3 separate regions of the Homo sapiens genome follow, and regions 2 and 3 are each linked to region 1. Evidence: promoter capture Hi-C in 16 types of primary human blood cells and fetal thymus (Javierre and others, 2016). All regions are on one chromosome and are shown on one strand. Each heading gives the region's core, a stretch centred on a gene start or on the middle of the fragment in contact. The rest is flanking DNA. Distances are from core to core; before and after follow the strand shown.

What was found. Contacts are between HindIII fragments. The CHiCAGO score rates a contact against its expected background, and 5 or more counts as called.
Region 2: a fragment that was not itself captured here is called in contact with the fragment with the promoter of IRF1 in region 1 in 5 of 17 cell types (fetal thymus, monocytes, total B cells and 2 more); the score reaches 8.6 in fetal thymus.
Region 3: a contact is called between a fragment that was not itself captured here and the fragment with the promoter of IRF1 in region 1, in 1 of 17 cell types (monocytes). The highest score is 5.5, in monocytes.

What each region holds. Positions count from the first base shown.
Region 1 is chr5:132,487,541-132,492,048 of GRCh38, reverse strand. It overlaps IRF1 (interferon regulatory factor 1), which reads left to right and starts at 1,276. Exons shown (of 10, transcript NM_002198.3): 1 at 1,276-1,504; 2 at 2,566-2,657; 3 at 4,024-4,123. The coding sequence starts at 2,571. RefSeq lists enhancers at 25-74, 115-324, 1-461, 595-734, 1,756-2,403 and silencers at 875-1,324, 1,585-1,864, 2,395-2,444. The HindIII fragment of the contact is 1,939 bases long and covers 786-2,724 here.
Region 2 is chr5:132,816,184-132,820,420 of GRCh38, reverse strand. SOWAHA (sosondowah ankyrin repeat domain family member A) reads right to left here. Exons shown (of 1, transcript NM_175873.6): 1 at 3,635-4,237. Among named protein-coding and RNA genes, the nearest start is that of SOWAHA, 5.0 kb to the right of the region's middle. RefSeq lists a silencer at 54-133. The HindIII fragment of the contact is 2,985 bases long and covers 1-2,742 here.
Region 3 is chr5:132,867,882-132,872,830 of GRCh38, reverse strand. UQCRQ (ubiquinol-cytochrome c reductase complex III subunit VII) reads right to left here. Exons shown (of 3, transcript NM_014402.5): 3 at 3,984-4,949. Among named protein-coding and RNA genes, the nearest start is that of LEAP2, 3.3 kb to the left of the region's middle. The HindIII fragment of the contact is 1,651 bases long and covers 638-2,288 here.

The DNA.
Region 1 (4,508 bases), core at 27-2,526:
GTTTTGGATGGAAAATGAACACCCAGTCAAGTCTCTAGGACTATACGTGGGGCGGGGACTAGTTGTGCGCGAGAGTTAAGTAGGGGCCTTACCAAGGAGCATGGGACCTGGGCTCCCCAACCCTTTGGCTAGCCCCATGGCGTTGATCAGCCCTGAGCTAATTCCTCCATGCTGCCCAGAACCTCTCTGGGCCAAGCCCTGGGGACTCAGAGATGACAGCAATGCTTCCATTGCGGAACTCCCATACGCGGGCCACAGGGAGGCTCTGGAGGCGGCCTGAGGCAAGAGTGCTAGGAGGGATCAGAGCTAGCCCACCCCTACCCTCACTCAGCCGTCTGGGCTTCTCTGAACCCCTTCTCCTCCTCTGTTCCCTAAAGCCAGCCAGGGGGAGTCCCAGGGAGGCAGACCGAAAAGGGGTGGGGTGTCATCCTGGTCACTATTAGACCCTGCAACGGCGACCTTGAAAACTACTCAGCGTCTGTTGCCCGAGTGGAGCATAGTGCTTTACAATCTCTTCCCATCACAGCAAACCATCAAGGTAGGGCTACTATTATTTTATGGTTGAAAAACAGAGGTCCTGCGTCCCTTGGGGGCTGTGCCAGCAGCGGCCAAGTTGGGATTTCCCCTGGTCCAGCAGCCCCAGACAGCACACGGGGCAGGGTAGGCTTTCTGCCTTCTTCACTTCCCCAGGGCAGGTGAGTGACCTGGAGGGAGGGGGTCACCCCTAAAAACAGGGGTAGTGCTAGGACTGAAACCCTCCCTTCTTGATATCCCACTGGCAAGCTTGAGGAGCCAGGCTGCCAGTCGGGAGATTCGGCCCAGTGTTCCCACTGGAGAGGGCGGCAAGTGCCCGGGCGATCCCCTCACCTGCGTTCGGGAGATATACCCCCGCCCCCGCCCCGCCAGGAGGGTGAAAAGATGGCCCCAGGAGCCAGCCGGCTGGGACAAGGCGGAGTGAGAGGACAGGCTGGGGCCAGGGGCGCTGGGCTGTCCCGGGCAGCCCTCCTCCGGGCAAGCCGGAGCAGGGGTGGATTGGGAGCGCTCGGGGCGGGCCCGCGGTGGCCCCGGGGCGGTGGCGCCCGGCCGGAGAGGGTGGGGCGGAGCAGCCGCCCTGTACTTCCCCTTCGCCGCTAGCTCTACAACAGCCTGATTTCCCCGAAATGACGGCACGCAGCCGGCCAATGGGCGCCCGCGCGGCTGTCCGGGGGCGGGGCCGGCCAGGGCTGGGGAATCCCGCTAAGTGTTTGGATTGCTCGGTGGCGCCGCTGCCCTGGCAGAGCTCGCCACTCCTTAGTCGAGGCAAGACGTGCGCCCGAGCCCCGCCGAACCGAGGCCACCCGGAGCCGTGCCCAGTCCACGCCGGCCGTGCCCGGCGGCCTTAAGAACCCGGCAACCTCTGCCTTCTTCCCTCTTCCACTCGGAGTCGCGCTCCGCGCGCCCTCACTGCAGCCCCTGCGTCGCCGGGACCCTCGCGCGCGACCGCCGAATCGCTCCTGCAGCAGAGGTGAGTACGCCTTTGAGGCGCGGGGCACCGGCGGCGTCGAATAAAAGGCGCGCGGGGCACCAGGAAGTGGGGGGTCGAAAGCTCCAGGCTGGAGACTCGCCGGCGCGCGGCGTTGCCCGGGCCTCCGCGCGGGCTCCGGGGGGCGCCGGAGGAGCTGCGAGCCGCGGGCCGCGGCGCGGGGAGGGCGGGACGCGGCGTGGACCGCCCACCCGGACGAGGCTGCCGGCGCCCGGCAGCTTTCGCAGATCTGCGTGCGCGCAGCCGCCAGGGGCCTGTAGGTGGCCCGCTATGTTCGTCCCGCGCATCCACACGCCGTGCCGGGGACCGAGTGTCAGCCCACGCGTGGGCGCCCAGTGCTCCCGGCTTTCGGCGGTCCCAGCTCCGCGCCCAGGCGACAGGTTTTGGGCTCCCTGTGCTGGTGGCAAGGGCTGGCTTACTGCCCAGGTGGCTGGAGGGAATCGTGACCTACGGAGACTGCGGGAAGAGGCGCCACAGGTGTTCCTTGGGCCACTTCTCCAGAGGAGGGGAAACCGGGCCGGAAGGGTTAGCGTCCTGGTCTTAGCGTTGTGGGCGCTGTGGCTGTCAGGAAGGCGTAGAATGGATTCAGGGGGGCGGGAGGGGGCTGTTCAGGGTGACGGCTAGCCCTTTGCTAGCTAGTGGTTACAACTCAAGTCAAGGGAATTTCTTCTTGGCATCAAGCAAAAGAAGTCCCTCCCTTCCCAAAGGATTTGAATTTTGAGCGAAAAGTTCTGAAATTAGGGTATCTGTGCATTTTGTCTCTTTTCCTGCATATGAATCCTGAAGCCATCACTTGCATGCCTGTCTCCTCCAGAGACTGGCTGGGAGGGGCTGAAGGAAGGGGCAAAAGCATTTTTGCCTAAGATGCTGAAAAAATTTGGAGAGCAGTTTTATTCCAGCGCAGCTCCCCTCCGCACTGAGTGTAGTACCTAGCAGCTGGCTGAGGTGAGGGGAGGGTAACTAAGTGACCTCGGGTGGGGCAGGTCACTGCCCAGGTACTGTTCAACAGATTCCAGACTGGAGCCTCTGTGTTCTCTTTACAGCCAACATGCCCATCACTCGGATGCGCATGAGACCCTGGCTAGAGATGCAGATTAATTCCAACCAAATCCCGGGGCTCATCTGGATTAATAAAGTGAGTGTAACTCTTTGGGTTTTCCTGCCACTGTTTTAACCCATGTACTTCTGGAGGGACCAAAGCTTCAGATGCAGCTCAAAAAGGGAAGTGATAACGGGACAAGCAGGTGTTTCTCCCAGTGGGTCCTGCATGCAGGGAGTGTGCACGGCCCAGCCTGGGCCTCACTTGCATGACTCCTGCCTTCTTCCCTTCTTGAGGTAGGGCACCCACCTGAAGGCACTTCCAGTTTCCAGCAGCAAGACTTTCCAGCATCTGCAGAGCTGGAGTTCTGCTCTCCTCTAAGCGAGACCCTTACAAACATACACAGCACTCTGCAGGGCTCCAATCGAACAAATAGAAGACTGAGAAGTGGATGCTGCTGGGCAGAAACGTGCCTGGCTTAGCAGAGGACAAACGAGTTAATCTTGCACCAGTCACTCTGGCCCAAGAAGCCTATAGCTGGTGCACTTGGGGCAACATAGACCCTATAGACTTAGTAGCAATGATAGTATTCATAATAATAGCTAATGCTTACTGAACACTCCCTGTGTGCCTGGCACCTGCTAAGTATGTTATTTACATTGTGTCATTTAATCCTCGCAGTAGTCCTGTGGGTTAGATCTTACTAATGTCATCATTTTCAGATAAGTAAACAGAGGCACTGAGAGGTAGATCATAAGATCACACAAAAAGTGATGAAGCCAAGATTTGAACTTGAACGGTCTGACTCAGAAATCTTTACTGTTAACCATAAGTGATATAATAACAGTAAGACCTTAGACTTCATATTTGTCACTGTGTCCCTACACATCCTCTGGTTTTTAATCCTCAAAATTTTGTTGGATATGTTTTCTCATTTCCGAGAAGAGAAAACTGAGGGGCAAAGAGATACAGTGACAATGCCAGGGTTACACAGTGTTCACCATCCAAGTCTAGCCCAGAGCTCCCTCAGTGGTATGACCAGGACCCCCTGTGTAAGAGCCCATGCTCCCAGGTGTCCTGAGGAGTCCTTTCTAATGGAAGAAGTTCTTACTTCCATGTGGGTGCTTACAAGCCAGAGAGAAACATCCCAGAGCTTCAAAACCAGGGCTTTGGGGGAGGGTGCCCTGTGTGGGTCCTAGCACATGTGTAACAGGCAGAGGGAGGTCTTTGTGAGCTAATAATGCTGCAGCTCATCCAAACTAGGTGTCCCTCCTGAGAGATCCAGAGTGGTCTGTTTAAGCCAGCCTCAAGATGGGTGTCCAAGCCAGATGTCAGGGGAAAAAAGGGGAAGTCAGCCTTTTCTCAGACCTGTCTGGCTGGGCAGGCCTGGGTCTCAGACTCAGCCCCAAAGTCTGTGGTCTCTGACCTGACACAGCCTTATGTGTATGTGTGTATTGTTCAGGAGGAGATGATCTTCCAGATCCCATGGAAGCATGCTGCCAAGCATGGCTGGGACATCAACAAGGATGCCTGTTTGTTCCGGAGCTGGGCCATTCACACAGGTGTGTGCCTGGGACTCAGGCCTAGGAAGCCCAGGGTAGAGACAAGAGGAGGCACTCACGTTAACACAGAGGCTCTTCACTGGGGTCCCTGAGCTCCCTGAGACAACATGCAGAATTACTGGGAAGAGGGGCTGGTGGCAGACTTGTGTTTCTGGAGAAGAGAGTCGATCATCTCAGCAAATTCTCAAAGGGAAAAGCCAAGATCTTAGAAAGTGTGTGGCTTCAGGGGGTTTGTGGCTAGATGAAAGTTCTCCCTGGCAAAAGCATCTGTGAAAAGCAGCTGTAAGCCAGGGCACTGAAAGAGACCCAGGTCTGCCTTTTTCTTCGTGTTGACCAAGGCCCTTGGTCCAAGCCTCATGTGGTTGGTGGCCTCCTTTATCCTTGA
Region 2 (4,237 bases), core at 1-2,500, 330 kb before region 1:
CAGAGGGCAAGAATGAGCTCACCACATTTGTTCCGTTATCAGCACCTCAGACTTCAAGACTTTGTGGGGACCAGAAGCCCGGTGAACTGACCCTTCAGGATACTGCCAGCAGAGGGCGCTGTCCTAATGGTGAAAGCTGGTACCTACGCTTCGCCATTCGCAGCTTCTCCAGCTTACCAGGCCCTCTGGGCCAGCCACAGGGACTTTGACTTGCCCTGCTGAGCAGTTAGGCCCGAAAGCTGGAGCTGAGCCTTTTGCTTCTTTCAGAAAGAAACTGACCAGCCAGGCAGGGAAAGGCTGGCTGTCTTTGCCACTGGGCCTTTGTTGGAAAGTTGCTGGCCAATGAGAAGTGGGAGAGAGGGCAGTCGGGGGGAGGGGTGTGGGGGGATTTAAACGGTACACTGATTAAATCATATCCTCCTAATACGGATTCGATCAGTGCACTTTTTGATTTCGAACATAAGTATCAAAAAAACAAAAAAAAAAAAACAAAAAAGCCTTGCGTAGTCTCCCAGGGTGAGAAAGCGGGTTGCATGGGTCCCTATAGGGGTTTCTGCGCCCCCATCTCCTTTAGCCGCCGGCACCCCTGCCCCATCCTCCTTCCTGGCTGCCTGCCGCGGTGCTTTCGGGCTTTTGGGGGAGCACAGGCCGCGGCTGGCATCGTTGCTGGGCAACAGGCAGCCCCGCGGCCGCCTCCCCAGCTCGCTTATTCCGCCCCCGCTGCTCCTCCTAACATGGATTTAATCAGTGTACTTTTTACCTTCAGGCTGTAAATTAGAAACGGAACAGGGAAGCCATGTTCGGCGGTGCCCGAAACCGGCGCGCAGTCTGTCTTGAACATCCTGCTCGGCACAAAACTTACCCCTGAGAGCGGCTGGCGCAAACCTCAGGGCTCCTCATTGGAACAAATTGCCGTGCTGTGCATTCACATGTAAACCAGGAGCTCAGGAAATTTAGGTCAAATGTGTTTGAGGGCTGCAGAGAGAAACAGGTGAAAGGGGCATTTGGGGGCGCAGGAAGGCGGGAGGCGGCAATTGCTGAGGACCCCATAGTGTTGCTGTCAGCCTAGCTACAGCGTGGAAGGTCACAATGGACGTTTACCTGTTGTCTTTGATGTTTAAATCAGCACCCACTTCCCACGAGGAGGATTTTTTTTTCTTTGAGGAGAGAATCTAGATCTCGATGTCTCTGCTTTCTTTTTTCTTCCCTGCAGGCACACCTGAGGCACCCCGGCCCCAGGTTGAAGTCTGGAGGTGTGGCAGTTCCAAACAGGTGAGGCGGGTTCAAGGCAAAAGGCTATCTGGAGAGCAAAAGAGAATCTAAGTATAGGCCAGGCGCCTATAAATACAGGCTGACTGTCGCCTGTAATCACAGCAGTTTGGGGGGCCGAGGCGGGCTAATTGCCTGAGCTCAGGAGTTCTGAGCTCAGGAGTTCGAGACCAGCCTGGCCAACATGGTGAAACCCCCGTCTCTAACAAAAGATTAGCCAGGCGTGGTGGTGCACGCCTGTAATCCCAGCTGCTCGAGAAGCTGAGGCACGGAAATCGTTTCAAGCGAGAATCGCTTGAACCAGGGAGGCGGAGGTTGCAGTGAGCCGACATCCCACCATTGCACTCCAGCTCAGGTGGCTGAATAGCAGTGGTTAGGTCTGGAAGGTAGGAGTAGGAATGCTAGAGGAATGTGAGTTTAGAAAGACATTATTTCTATTTTAACTAAAGTGATATCATGTACAGAATATGGGATAATTTCCCTCTTGTGGGAATACATTTTTCCTAGTAGAGTCGATTGTTACTTATGTATACAATCACCAACATGTTAAAAGAATGGTGATCATGGCAGGGCACGGTGGCTCACACCTGTAATCGCAGCACTTTGGGAGGCCAAAGCAGGCAGATCACCTAAGATCAGGAGTTTGAGACCAGCCTGACCAACATGGTGAAACCCCATCTCTACTAAAAATTCAAAAAATTAGCCAGGCATGGTGGCACGTGCCCGTGATCTCAGCTACTTGGGAGGCTGAGGCAGGAGAATCGCTTGAAGCCGGGAGGCAGAGGTTGCAGTGAACTGAGATTGCACTACTGCACTCCAGCCTGGGTGACAGAGCGAGACTCCATCTCAAAAAAGAAAAAAAAAAAAAGAAAGAATGATCATGTAAAGCAGATCCACAAATCAGAGCTATTTGGTTTTGGGATGCAGCCATTTACCCCCTGGAACCAACTCGGCACCCCACATTGGTGTTGCAGTTCATAAAGAGCTCTATCCACTCATTCTACGTGCTCTTCCTTCCCCCACAGCCTGTGAAATAGGTACAGGAAGCCTTTTGTCCCGTAGACAGGGAAGATGGAGTTTGGGGAGCTGGGTGACTTGCCCAAAGACACTAAATGAGTAAAAAGGGCTGAGATGAGCCCACCCTGCTTCCTGCAATAGGATAGCAGACAGTGTCATGAAAAAGAGAACCAGGAGACTATTCCAGCTCTGCATTTACTAGCTGTGAGGCCTAGACAAGTAACTTATGACTTCTCTAGGCTTCAGTTTCCTCACTTTAAAATCAAGATACAAATAGTACATACCTTATAAACTTGCGATTAATACCTGCAAAGTGTTTCGAATTGTGCCTGGCACTTAATCAGCACAGGTTATACAGTATATGCATTACCCTGGATCTCCATTAGGTAAGGGAGACATGCTTAAGAATAACCTCCAACCTCCATTAAAGGATATGTAAAACTTTACTTAAAAGCTTGCTATGGATACGACTCATACCCATCTACATCAACAATTCTCCCTCATTAAAAGGCGTGATTTCGTCCCTGTGACAATTCTTGTCAGCTAAATTGCCTTCACAATTATTTTCTGTTAGTGTTGAAAATACCCTTCTAACGGTGTGCCTCCTGCTAGGTGATATATGATTCTTAAAAACTTTCCCTATGCGTATGAAACTATAATTTCTTATCGGCTTACCTTATAGTTGCAGAAAGCTTTGGCCTGCAAGGAAAAGCAGTGTTTTCTAACACCTGAGCTTTAGGTATATTGATCCTAAACTCTTGCTAAATGTTTTACTTCACTTGGAAGGCTTGCAGCACACTCTTCTGAAACACATAGATTCTTCTGGCAGTTCAAATGACCCTCCTCTGATTTAAGTGTGCAATAAACATTAGTTATTGTTATTACTACTTTGCTGGTTTAAACGTTGTCTTTATCAAGGCAGGTCATACCTGTGTCTGTGACCTTTGTCTGAGGCCCTGTCTGAGTCAGGTGTCTCTTTTACCATGGAAAATCTCTAGTATTTTATTCTGTTTTCTAGACTGTCAGCTACTCCAATTGCTATAATTGTGTCTCCTACAATTTTTCAGCAGAGGCAGAAGATTTAATTTGCATTTTAAAATAATTTATGCAGAGTTCCAGGCAAGGAAGGTGGGAAGGTCACATCAGGGCCCACATTTATCTACAGTTCTCCATTACGATATCCATGTGTGGTTGACTCCTTTACTTTGCAGAGCAATCCAACTTCTTTCAATAACAGAATGCTTGAAAGAGGCAGAAGAATGAAGGAAATTAGATAAAAAGAAAAGAAAAATACAATAGCAAAAACTGTACAATTTTTAAGGGAAGTACATCACCACTCAAGCAGAAACAAAATGGAGGACTGTTTATTTCATTGCTCAATCAAAACATTCCATGAAAGACTGCCTTAAGTAATTTCAAAGGCTTCACTGATACATATGGGGGTGGGGAGGGAAGCTCCACTACCCCATGCCACAAAACTATTTGATATAACTAATGACATGCAAACACAATTTGCAAAAGCAGAGCATTATCACAATATGACATTTAAAAAATTGGTTGAGTAAACAGATTTCATATCTTTAAAACATAAAATAATTACACTGTATTGAGCCTGGGAAATCTTGGCAATATCTACAAACTTTCTCATTTACAGATAGGAACAAAGGCCCAGAGAAGTTAAGCCACTCATCCAAGCTCACTGAGCAGAGATTCTGCATTTGCTATTTTGGAATAAGTTGTCTACTTTCAAATGGTTTTTTAAAATGGGTATTACATACTTTTTGTTTGTACAGAACAGTCATATAAAATAGTTGCTCCTTAATTGTATCCATTACTATTTAATCGCTCATTTTTCTGTAATACTATTACTTTTTTAATAGTCACCTATTTCACTGAAAGGCTCCACTGGATTTGAAAACCAGATTCAGAAACATGGCACAAAGGTGCAATT
Region 3 (4,949 bases), core at 214-2,713, 380 kb before region 1:
CTCCAAAGCCCAAAGCATCCATCAGTTTAAGTAGGAACTGCTGCAGATTTCTAGACCAAGGGAGGACATGTATCTAAACGATGGGTAGTTATGGGTACTCGTGAAATGACATGGGCATTTTAAGTTTGAGGGGAAAGCTGTGAATTCTGAGTAAGGAGACTGATTGGACTTTAGATCTTCCTATGACCTGGGAGGATAATAAGCTTAAGACAAAGACAACAAATTCTTTCTGCCGGGCATCATACTGAAAACTTGGCTAATACCTCTTCCCAAGGGCCGTCTCATCTTCACAGGTTGGGTATTTGGATAAGAACCTGCTTGTTCCTTTACTCCAGGAAAACGTGGAGGAGATGCACAACAGCTGAAGGTAGAAAAGGATGGCCACTGACCCTGCTGCCAGTCAGACAGAGGGAGCTTCTTGCCAAGGGAGAAGCAGATGGTTTGATGGACCTCAGAGCTGGAATTGGGCAGGATGTGACCACAGATCTGACTGTCCTGATTCTAGTCCTCTCAGAATCATGGAGCCAGGCCTTGAGGGGGATGCCACTGCATGCACTTTAGGAACATTGAGAAGAGACCTATATACCAACGAACCAGTTGAGACTAGTTCTCTGCTCCCTCCCTTCACCCCTAAGCTTGGATACTGGATGATCCCAGACAGGTGCCTAAACTGGGAACTTTTGCTGGGAGGGGAAGTGGCTATGTGGGTGACCTAGTGAGCACTGGGTAAGAACACAAATGATTAGATAAGCAAAGGACTGAACAACGTGATGTCCTAGAGCCAGTTGGGTCTGTGGCCTCAGTGTCAGCCTCCCCTTTACCAGTCTAGAGTGATGTGCCAAATGGGATTTGGAAACTGTTCATCCAAAAGATGAGTAATTCTCCTAATCCTCCATTTCTGCCTTCCTGTACTTCTAGCAGGATCAAACTAGCATGGTGTTAATTTGTAAAGCTGATAACACAGTCAAGGAAAGAAAGAGCTTGAAGCCCTTGCCCCTCTGTGTGTAGGCGGAAAGGACCATTCATCCTCATGAGTGTGACAACATTGCAGAGGCCTTTGGTTCAAGCCTCTATGTTGTATGCCACCCTCTCCCCAAAAGAAAAAACCATTAGTCACTGTCTGTGGAAGGAACCACTGTTGGGGAAGGGGAAAGTATTTTAACATGTCTACGTGAATGCTAGTTGTTTTAGTTAAGTATGGAGCAAAAATCAAACTCAAAGCAACATCCAGGCAGCAGTTAGCTGAATTGGCAGTATTTGTCCACAGCCATCCCATACTTGAGAGACTGTGAAGGCCTCTTCTTGAAATTAAAAAAAAAAAAATTTCATGGATTCTACAATCAAGTATTTTGCTCAGTGAATATACACGTAACTGCATGCTCCTTCATCCAATAGAAAGGCCTAAGTAGCCTTTAACAGTTGCAGCCGTAAGAAGGTAGAATGCTTGGCTGGTAAGCAGTAGCCTGGGGTCTACAGAGTGCAACTGCCCATAGGCCAGCCCTTCCCCTTTTTGGGCTTTAGTCTCCTATTCTGTCAGTTTGGGGGTTCAAATGACTAATTTACAAGAAGAAAATGAGACTGAAGCAGATTTGATAGCTGAGAGCTTGGTAACTCTGGATACAACTCTCAAGAGATTTTATGCTTCTGAGGCAAATGCTTAGGATGAAATGGGAGAAAGAGGGTATAGCTACATGAGCAGCTGTTTGAAACACATTCCAGGTCGATCACTAGGAGTTGGCAGTAATTGGAAACTTTTTGCTGTCCCTAAGCAGGAGGTGCCTAATAAAAGATGAAAGACTCTGAAATGGAAAAACTTTACCAGGTAAAATTTCAACAAAAGGTCAAGGTGTATTTGCTTTTTTGCTAGCTGGAACTGGCATAGACTTTTGGGCCTACCTTAGGCCTGCATTTTGAGGACTGCCTGCAAACTAAAAGAGCAAGGGCATTCCTTTCATCAGACTCTGCAGCCCATAGATAAAAACGCTTGTGGGGGCAGGAGCATTTGGAAAAAGAAAGGTCAAATGGAGCAAATGGTTGTGCCAGAGTAGCAGGTAAGGGATCCATACCCAGGACTGGAGGCTCCAGATGGGTTACCAGCACTGAAGCCCACAGCAGCTGTCTTTCCTTCAAAGGTTTTACTCAGGTTCTCCTCTGAGGATTTCTGCAAATGTCCCCTAAAATGATCCCAGGTCATGTATAGGAGCACTGAACTACTAAAACTCACCACATTCCACACACCCACCACCTCAGCACTCCTGCCACACAGGTGAGATCCATTTCCCCAAGCTTAGAGAGGGAAGCCCTTTGATGAGACACAGGCTTAAAGCAGACTAATTTCATCCAAAGCAGAAGCTCCACACATCACAGGGCTTACGGCAGAGTCATCTCAGTAGAGCACTCCTGGAATAAAAAGAATAGGCTTGGTGCCTGGTTTGGGCTGAGAAAAGGGATTTGGATCTTTTGAGCTGGTCTCTCCAAAGGAGTCAAAGAACCAGGGAGAAATAGTCTAAGTGTAGAACAAGGTGAGCAAGATGGGAGAGGGTGGCCGTCTACTTCGGCGGGTTGGGGCAAACACCAGAGGGAGAAAGACATTAACGGCCTCTCAAAGCAGTGGTCCTCCTCTGGGCTGTGAACTCTTTGAAGCTATGCAAGGTAAGGATGGGTCCACAGTTTTCATCATTCTCAAGTCTATGACCCAAATATGTTGCAAGACCTGGGAATAAATCTGGACAAAGAGGCAAATGGGAAAATTGGACTGTCTTTTGGGGGTGAGGTAGAAGAGTTCCTCAGTTAGTTGCCCTGTGTTAAGCCCGTACCATCTTGCCAGACACTTGTCACTCATTTCACCATCACCACAACCCAAGAACTTTATAATATTTCTATTTTATGGGTGAGAAGCTTAAGGCTCATGAAAGTAGGTTTCTTGCCTATATCACATAATGAGGAAGTGACGGGCTAAGAGGACGAGCCCAAGACTGTAAGACTCAGCCTTTTCCCCGTATCCTGCCTCACAATGTAGTTTATCTTTTAGGTTTTGTTTTGAAGTCTCGCTCTGTCACCCAGGCTGGAGTGCAGTGGCACAATCTTGGCTCACTGCAACCTCCACCTCCCAGGTTCAAGCGTTTCTGCCTCAGCCTCCTGAGTAGCTGGGATTATAGGCGTGTGCCACCACACTCAGCTAATTTTTATATTTTTAGTAGAGACAGGGTTTCACCATGTTGGCCAGGCTGGTCTCAAACTCCTGACCTCAAGTGATCCATCCACTTCAGCCTCCCAAAGTGCTGGGATTACAGGTGTGAGCCACTGTATCCGGCCATGTTTTGAAGTATCTTAACTTTTGATTCTTAAAAGGCAATAGCAGTAATTAGGATAATAAAGATACAGTCTGGCCAGGCACGGTGGCTCACACCTGTAATCCCAGCACTTTGGGAGGTCGAGGCAGGTGGATCACGAGGTCAAGAGATCAAGACCATCCTGGCCAACATGGTGAAACTCCGTCTCTACTAAAAAAAAAAATAAAAATACAAAAATTAGCTGGGTGTGTTGGTATGCGCCTGTAGTCCCAGCTATTTGGGAGGCTGAGGCAGGAGAATCACTTGAGCCCGGGAAGCGGAGGTTGCAGTAAGCTGAGATTGCGCCACTAAACTCCAGCCTGGTGACAGAGCAAGACTCCCATCTCAAAAAAAAAAAAAAAAAAACACAGTCTGACCCAGAATCAAAGTTGCTGCTAGCAGGAAGAGTCCTTAGAAGAGTTTCTAAAAACGGATCTCAGATCCCATAGCATATACTGTACTGACTGAGCTATGACAACTCATCATATTCCACATACCTGCTACCACAGGTGAGATCCATGTCCCGAAGCTTAGAGAGAAGCCTCTCTAAGGAACTAGAGGCATAAAACTGCCAACCACACCTACCCCCACCATCTCTCGGTGGGCGAAGGGAAAATGGTATCTTTAATACCAAAAAGATAATTTAAAGGCTTTAGATCAGGGGTAAACTTTATTCATAAAGGGCCAGAGTAAATCTTTGAGGCTTTATGAACCACATATGGTTGAAAACATTGTTGGCCTCCTGGCACAGAAACAGAAAACTGCTGTGGAGGCTAAGAGATCACCTCATCCGTTTTATAGCTGATATCCCCTCAGGCTAAGGCCTGCCTTAGGAGGAAAGGCAGTAGAGCAAGCTTGTCCAACCGCAGTCCTGGGCAGCAAGCAGCCCAGGATGGCTTTGAATCCGACCCAACAAAAATTTGTAAACTTTCTAAAACGCTGAGGGTTTTTTTTGCCATTTTTTAAAGCTTATCAGCTATTGTAATGTTAGCGTATTTTATGTGTGGCCCAGGGAAGCTAAAAGATTGGACACCCCTGCAATAGAGCATAGTTTTAAGAGCATCACTTTAGTGCAAGACTCCACCATTCACTGCTGTATAATTTCTGGCAAATTACTTAATCTCTCTGTGCCCATTTCCTCATCTGCCAAATGAGGATACGTTAAAGGTGCTTGTGAGGTTTAACAGTTCATTTGTGTAGCTAAGAAGAGTATTTGAGGCCCAGAGCACCATGGCTTACGCCTGTAATCCCAGCACTTTGGGAGGCTGAGGCGCACAGATCATCTGAGGTCAGGAGTTCCAGACCAGCCTGGCCAACATGGTGAAACCTGTCTCTACTAAAAATACAAAAAATTAGCCAGGTGTGGTGTCCTGCACCTGTAATCCCAGCTACTCGGAGGCTGAGACAGGAGAATCGTTTGAACCCAGGAGGCACAGATGGCAGTGAGCCGAGATCACACCACTGCACTCCAGCCTGGGTGAGAGAGCAAGACTCCATCTCAAAAAATAAAAAATAAAAGCGTCCCTGACACATACTAATTACAATATAGTTAGTAGACTTTATTGTTGCTATGGGAGCAGAGGGCCAAGAACCAGCACTCGCCATAGCCCATGTCAC